Linked DNA regions of Homo sapiens: region 1 is linked to region 2. The links are contacts of gene promoters, found by promoter capture Hi-C in blood cells and fetal thymus (Javierre and others, 2016). All regions are on one chromosome and are shown on one strand. The core of a region is centred on a gene start or on the middle of the fragment in contact, and the rest is flanking DNA. Distances in the headings are between cores, read along the strand shown.

Region 1 (2,894 bases), core at 43-2,542, 210 kb after region 2:
TGAGCCGAGATCGGGCCATTGCACTCCAGACTGGGCAACAAGAACAAAACTCCGTCTCAAAAAAAAAAAAAAAAAAAGTCATTTAACACATGCTTAATGTGGCCTAGGGGGTAAAAGGTCATGAGAAGAATATTGTTGGGAAAGATGGTGAAGGTAGAGAGAATGGCAAGGATCCATACCATGTTTTTGTTATTATTCCCAAACTATAACAGGCAGAAGTAGAAAAATTTTCTCCACTTTCCCTTAGTACCTGGGTTCTGCGGTGGAGAGCAGTAGTTATTAACAAGACAGAACTTCCCATGTGCCTTGGGTATGAGCCATTCAGGTGCTACAAGTAGAGCAAACCCACAGCATCATCCTCTACTGTCTATGCCTTCCTGAACTGAGTGAAATCTGAGCAAAAATATGTTGAAATCACATAGCTGGCTCTGCTCTCTATCAAAGCTTTGCATAATTGAGGAGGGAGAAGACGCAAAGGGGCCAGGGAAAGGTATGGAATTAGCCACTGTCTGCAAGCCCCTTTCCAGGAAAAAGACCTAGACATCAAGCAATTTGCAGCTCTGAAATTATCTTTAGGGTCAACCTAGTGCTCTCTGAAGGAAACCCACCAACCTTAGCTCAGCTCATGTGTTTGTCTTTACAGTGGAAAGGTCTGACTCATTTTTCACCAGGCTGTAGATGGTGACCTTCTGTCTACATATAATACAGTTGAAGACAGCTCAGCTTCATTATCCAAGTGCTTGGGGAGCAGTGCAGAGGGGATAAATTCCCAGGTCATCCTAGGAATGGCCAGTCTCTAAAATAAAAAGGGGTAAGAGCTGAAAACACAACACCTGGGCAGGGGGAAAATATCACCTCATTGTCTCCTTTTAGATCTCAGATGGATGCATCTTTTCTCTTGTTCTTTGCGCTTCTCTGTCCTCCCCATGTAGACTGCAGAAGAGAGAGAAGGCTAAGGTTTATGAGTGGGAGAAGAAACGATCCTATCCCTCCCATGTCTCATTTCAGGACATAAGGAACTAAGGAAAAGGGCCAAACTAAACACTTTAAATCACTAGATATGATACATAGGAGATGATACTTTTTGGGGTTTTTGGGTGTACCCCCAAGTATAGCTCTCTGTTTATAGAAAGGCCTCACAAAATCACTGCTGTTCAGTGGTATGTTTGGCAGGGGTGGAGAAAGTAGAGCAGGGAAATTCAATTTGAGTTTTATAATAATCAGTTTTAAAGCCAAAGATGCCCAAAACAGGGTTAGCACTCTCAAGTGAAGTTTGAAATTACAGGGAAGTCTCAGTGAACTATTCTGACTAGGGTACAGTAGCAAAAAAAATGTAGAAGAGACAGGAACAATTGCCTTTGATTGCAATTGTGCCCAAAAGTCCCTAATACATGCTGATCAAAAAAGTTCACTGTTGTTTGGGCCAGAAAGATGTTTTCAGGCTTCTCTGCTAATAGTCTTGCTCTGATAATCCAATTTGGTAAGACTCTCTTCTTCATGTGGAGGGTCTAGGGCAGGGGTACTCCAGGAACTGAGAAATCCTGGAGCTGAAATGGAGTTGAGAGATTATCTACAATTTCCTAGTTTTTAACAGAAGAAACTAAGCCCAGAGTCATCAATCTCATTAACAACAGAATTAGGACATGTAGAGTCCAAGTTACCATTAGAAGATTCTTTCCACTGGAACACTATATTAAATCTTGCCCCAGTTGGAAGATTTGGGCCACCCTGCTTGCCTTCTTTCTTGGGTTATTAAATGAATGGTTTTTGGGTCTGCGTCTTGCTGACCTAAATCCTTGAACTGGAAACACAGGCTTATGGATGGGAGGATAAATAATCCTCTTCCTCCTATGTCTCTTTTCAGAGATAATGGACCTGAGGAAAACACCAAACTAGATGGTCATTAAGTCTCTAAAGTAGAAACGGCCTCTTAGCTTGAGGACTACCCCAGCATAGGTATTGCATCAGAGCCTACAATGTGGATCCTCCCCGCAGCTGGACCAGGTCATTCATATCAGCACTACCCTTTCTTAGATGCCTTTGTCTGATAAACTTTGAACCTATCTCTCTGTTTCCAGAACAGAGTCCATAACTCTTCTAAGAAGAGGAAGCAAATCAAAGCCTGGAATTCAAAGCTTTCTTCAGCAGAGTCAACAGACCAATAAAGAAAGGGAGTCCCTCTGCCTGTGGCATTGTCCACACTCACAGGGTCCCACACTCTTATTTGTTCCTACAGAGTAAAACGAGGCTAGAAATACCTATCTTTCTTTTTCTTTGGTGTGTGTGTGTGTGGCGAGAGAGAGAGAGAGACAGAGAGAGAGATGGCCAGTTGGGGAAAAAAAATAATTCCTTTGTGGATACTACTGTGTGTGGGGGGGCAGGGGGTACGGTGAAAGGTGGGATAAGTTTCTCCCATGCTGGGAAGTTCAAGCTGCAGATTTCAAACTAAGAGGACATAAAGAGACTTTCAGTTGCATTTTCACTGGAAAAAAGTCAGGACTTATTTCTGAGCCAAGTCCTGAAATATGCCTTACCCTTAACCTACTCAGAGGAAGGGGATTGCCCAGAAGCTACAATTCAACTAACTAACTGCACTCAGTGGGCAACAAAGACATTATATTTTGTGTTTGAGACATCAACTTCTATTGACTAGGGCAAGGTATAATTCTGAAGCTGCCAAAATGAGGGCAGCTCTCACCATTCTGAAGCCCACCCCAGAAGCTCCAGTGAAACTTCTCTTGCTTCCCAATGGTAAAGCTATTTTCTTCTTTTAAGATTTTATTTTTATCTCAGGAGCTACTCATCTGACTGTTCTCATGACCCAAGGGTCTGTCTGGATTCTCTGGCTTTAGGCTGTTAGTAGGGAAAGCTGAAGTCCTCCTGCAAACCATAAA
Region 2 (3,268 bases), core at 143-2,642:
CTAGGATTACAGGCGTGAGCCGCTGCACCTGGCCATACTACTCTTCCCCGCCCCGCCCCACCGCTCCACCCCGGCAAAGGAGTCTTGCTCTGTCGCCCAGGTTGGAGTGCAGTGGCGCGATCTCGGCTCACTGCAATGCAACCTCTGCCTCCCGGGTTCAAGCGATTCTCCTGTCTCAGCCTCCCGAGTAGCTGGGATTACAGGCGCCCGCCACCACGCCCGGCTACTTTTTTTGTATTTTTAGTAGAGACGGGGTTTCACCACGTTGGCCAGCCTGGGCTCAAACTCCTGACCTCGTGATCCACCAGCCTCGGTCTCCCAAAGTGTTGGGATTAAAGGCATGAACCACCGCGCCCGGCCATACTACTCTTATCTTACTTATCTCAGAGTCCCGCTAGAAGACAGCAGAAAGGAGGCCTGAAACTTTAGTTCCTTTTGGGACCTGTCAAATTGTCCACAAAAGGTAGCTAGCTCTGTATTGTTGTGTATAAACAAATTACATAAAGATATGTGTGTATGTGTGTATTAATGTGCATTAGCATTTGCTTAGCCAATGTCCACAATAAATACCATACTATTTAATACCAGATTAGTCTAGGAAGTCATGTGATTGTAATGCCTTGGTTTGCTTAATTAATCCCTTATCTGCTCACGGAGCTCTTTAGGCTCCACATTGACTTCCCTTGGATCCCACGTTCTCTACCGCCCACATCCCCAACACCACGGTGTTGTAAGCTAAGGAAATCAAACCCCAACTCAGGAAGAGGGAAATTTTTTCTCCCTTCCTTCCTCTTAGGTGTTTCAGGGAACTCCACAAGTGTTCGGGGAGCCATCGTGGATACGGCAGGAGAGCGCCTGGGAGAGAGGCAGACAACCCGTTGAGCACCCCAGATCTAAGCTTTGCGGTCAGACTCCCTCACTCCCCACCCCGCGGCCGCCTTGTTAACTGCAATATCCATTCCCATGACAGGAGTCAAGGGGTTACGAAGCTCTGGGATGCTGACCAGGGCTCTGGAAAAGGGAGAGGGGCCGGACCCGCAGCAGGTCACGCTGCAGGCCTGCCTCTCCGCAATGATCTCGCAACAATCTGCGTCAGCTCTAAGACACAAGTCACCTGCACCCCTCCAAAGCGAAGCGTGGCCGGCCAGGCCCACACGTTTTTGCCGGGAAGAACATAGAGTTCTCCCTCCTAAATGGCTACATAGTCCTGGCTGGGACCATATAGACTCTAGACTAGACTTCCTGTCTAGAGTGGAGGCCTGGCCAGCCTTCGTCCCTCCTCGTAGGCAGCTCCTGGCTGCTGGTGTAGGGGCTGAGTTAAACAAAGAGGCGGGGTTTGGTGACGAGCTTCCGCCGGGTTGCGTAGCAGCGGTGGGCGGGGCAAAGGATCCGTCTGAGGCGGCGACGAGTGGTAGGAGTCTTCTTTCCCCTCCTTCCCCTTTCCCTTCCCTTCCCGGGAGAGGCTGGGACCCGGCACCAGGGCAGTACTGTGGCCGCTGCGGCCTCAGCTCCGACTGGGTCAGGTTGCGGAGACTCCAGGCCGCTTCCAGGGCGGTGCGTACTGCGCCTGCGCGATCTTCCACCTAAAAGAGGGTGTGGGAGGGGAGGAGGTGATGTCCCAGGGGTATTGGGGCGGGGGGTTGAAATAACTGGGGTTCAGGAGGAGGGATGGTGGTAGAGATAAAAATGTGAGAAGGGAGCAGCACTGGCGAGGAGTCGGGAGGTGAGAAGGGGGCTCTGGAGAACGGGTTGTTGGGGAAGGTCCATTGGAATAGGGGAGCTTTGAGAAGTGCGGGAGGGGGCCGGGGCTAGCTGGAGGACCGGCACCTGCAGAACTGGGGGAACAGCGTGGTGTTTAAATGGGCAATGATTGACGGGCCAGAAGGGGAGGAAGGGAGCATTCCGGGGGCCAGCCTGGGCAGGGGCGGTGGAACCTAAACCCCCGCCCTCGAAGCGCCATAGCTTGGCTCCTCTCCCATGCCTTGTCGTTGGCAGCCTTGTCCTCTCATTCCTTCCCCGCTCCTCACCCCCTCCCAGCCCTCCATGAAGGAATCTCACATTCTTCACATCCCTGCGCTTGGTTTGCAGCCTGGCTCTCTGGCAGGGTTCACACACCACACACTGGAAGGCCTTCCCTAACTCAGGACTTTGGGAAATTGGGTAGTGGGGAGGAGGGGGCTAGAGGAAGAGCAGAAAGCCAGGAGGGGTGAAGGCGTTTTGCTTGAGGGATTGACAGACTGCTTCCCCGTTCAGAAACTTCATTTCATTTAATAGCAAGTGGGGCTGTTATTGAGGCCACTGTTCTTGGGGACTGGCCCGTGATAGTGTTATCCCTTTCTATACAGGGGTTTTAGAGTCTGACAATAGGGCAAGAGACTGATAGTGTTGTTGGCTGATAGTTTTGCCCCAAATAAGAATGTAGTGGACTAGTGGTAGGGAATGTGAGTGATGCAATGTTAAGCCGACCGACCTGTGGCTAGCCCTGCCTTCTAGTAAAAAGAAGGAACAAGCTTTTGTCAAGCATTTCCTCTCCGACTCTCAGTACTCTAAATTTATTTTGCATTCTTGTTTTTTTTTTTTTTTGAAACGGAGTCTCACTCTGTCACCCACGCTGGAGTGCAGTGGCACAATCTCGGCTCAGTGCCACCTCTTTCTGGGTTCAAGCGATTCTCCTGCCTCAGCCTCTTGAATAGCTGGGATTACAGGTACCTGCCACCATGCCTGGCTAATTTTTTGTATTTTTAGTTGAGATGGGGTTTCACCATGTTGGCCAGGCTGGTCTCAAACCTCTGACTGTAGCCGGGCGCGGTGGCTCACGCCTGTAATCCTAGCACTTTGGGAGGACGAGGCGGGCGGATTGCCTGAGCTCAAAAGTTCGAGACCAGCCTGGGCAACACAGTGAAACCCCGTCTCTACTAAAAATATAAAAAATTAGCCGGGGCATGGCTGCATGCACCTGTAGTCCCAGCTACTTGGGAAGCTGAGGCAGGAGAATTGCTTGAACCCAGGAGGCAGAGGTTGCAGTGAGCTGAGATTCCACCACTGAACTCCAACCTGGGCAACAGAGTGAGACTCTGTCTCCCCACACCCCCCGCCAAAAAAAACAAAACAAAACCCTGACCTCAGGTGATTGGTCCATCTCGGCTTCCCAAAGTGCTAGGATTACAGGCATGAGCCACTGCACCCAGCCTTATTTTGTATTCTGTTGCTACAAATAATCTTACTTGAGGATAACAGTATTCAGTATCCTTTCATATTTATTTATTTA

Evidence for each region. Contacts are between HindIII fragments. The CHiCAGO score rates a contact against its expected background, and 5 or more counts as called.
Region 1: a fragment that was not itself captured here is called in contact with the fragment with the promoter of RNF41 in region 2 in 1 of 17 cell types (naive CD8 T cells); the score reaches 5.6 in naive CD8 T cells.

Annotation. Positions count from the first base shown.
Region 1 is chr12:56,009,456-56,012,349 of GRCh38, reverse strand. It overlaps LOC105369781 (a long non-coding RNA gene), which reads left to right. Exons shown (of 3, transcript NR_135023.1): 2 at 672-811; 3 at 2,079-2,258. It also overlaps a transcript of IKZF4 not described here. Among named protein-coding and RNA genes, the nearest start is that of IKZF4, 10 kb to the left of the region's middle. The HindIII fragment of the contact is 1,691 bases long and covers 447-2,137 here.
Region 2 is chr12:56,220,046-56,223,313 of GRCh38, reverse strand. It overlaps RNF41 (ring finger protein 41), which reads left to right and starts at 1,392. Exons shown (of 7, transcript NM_005785.4): 1 at 1,392-1,554. It also overlaps a transcript of NABP2 not described here. RefSeq lists enhancers at 1-149, 1-499, 981-1,200, 500-1,434, 1,421-1,470. The HindIII fragment of the contact is 1,612 bases long and covers 901-2,512 here.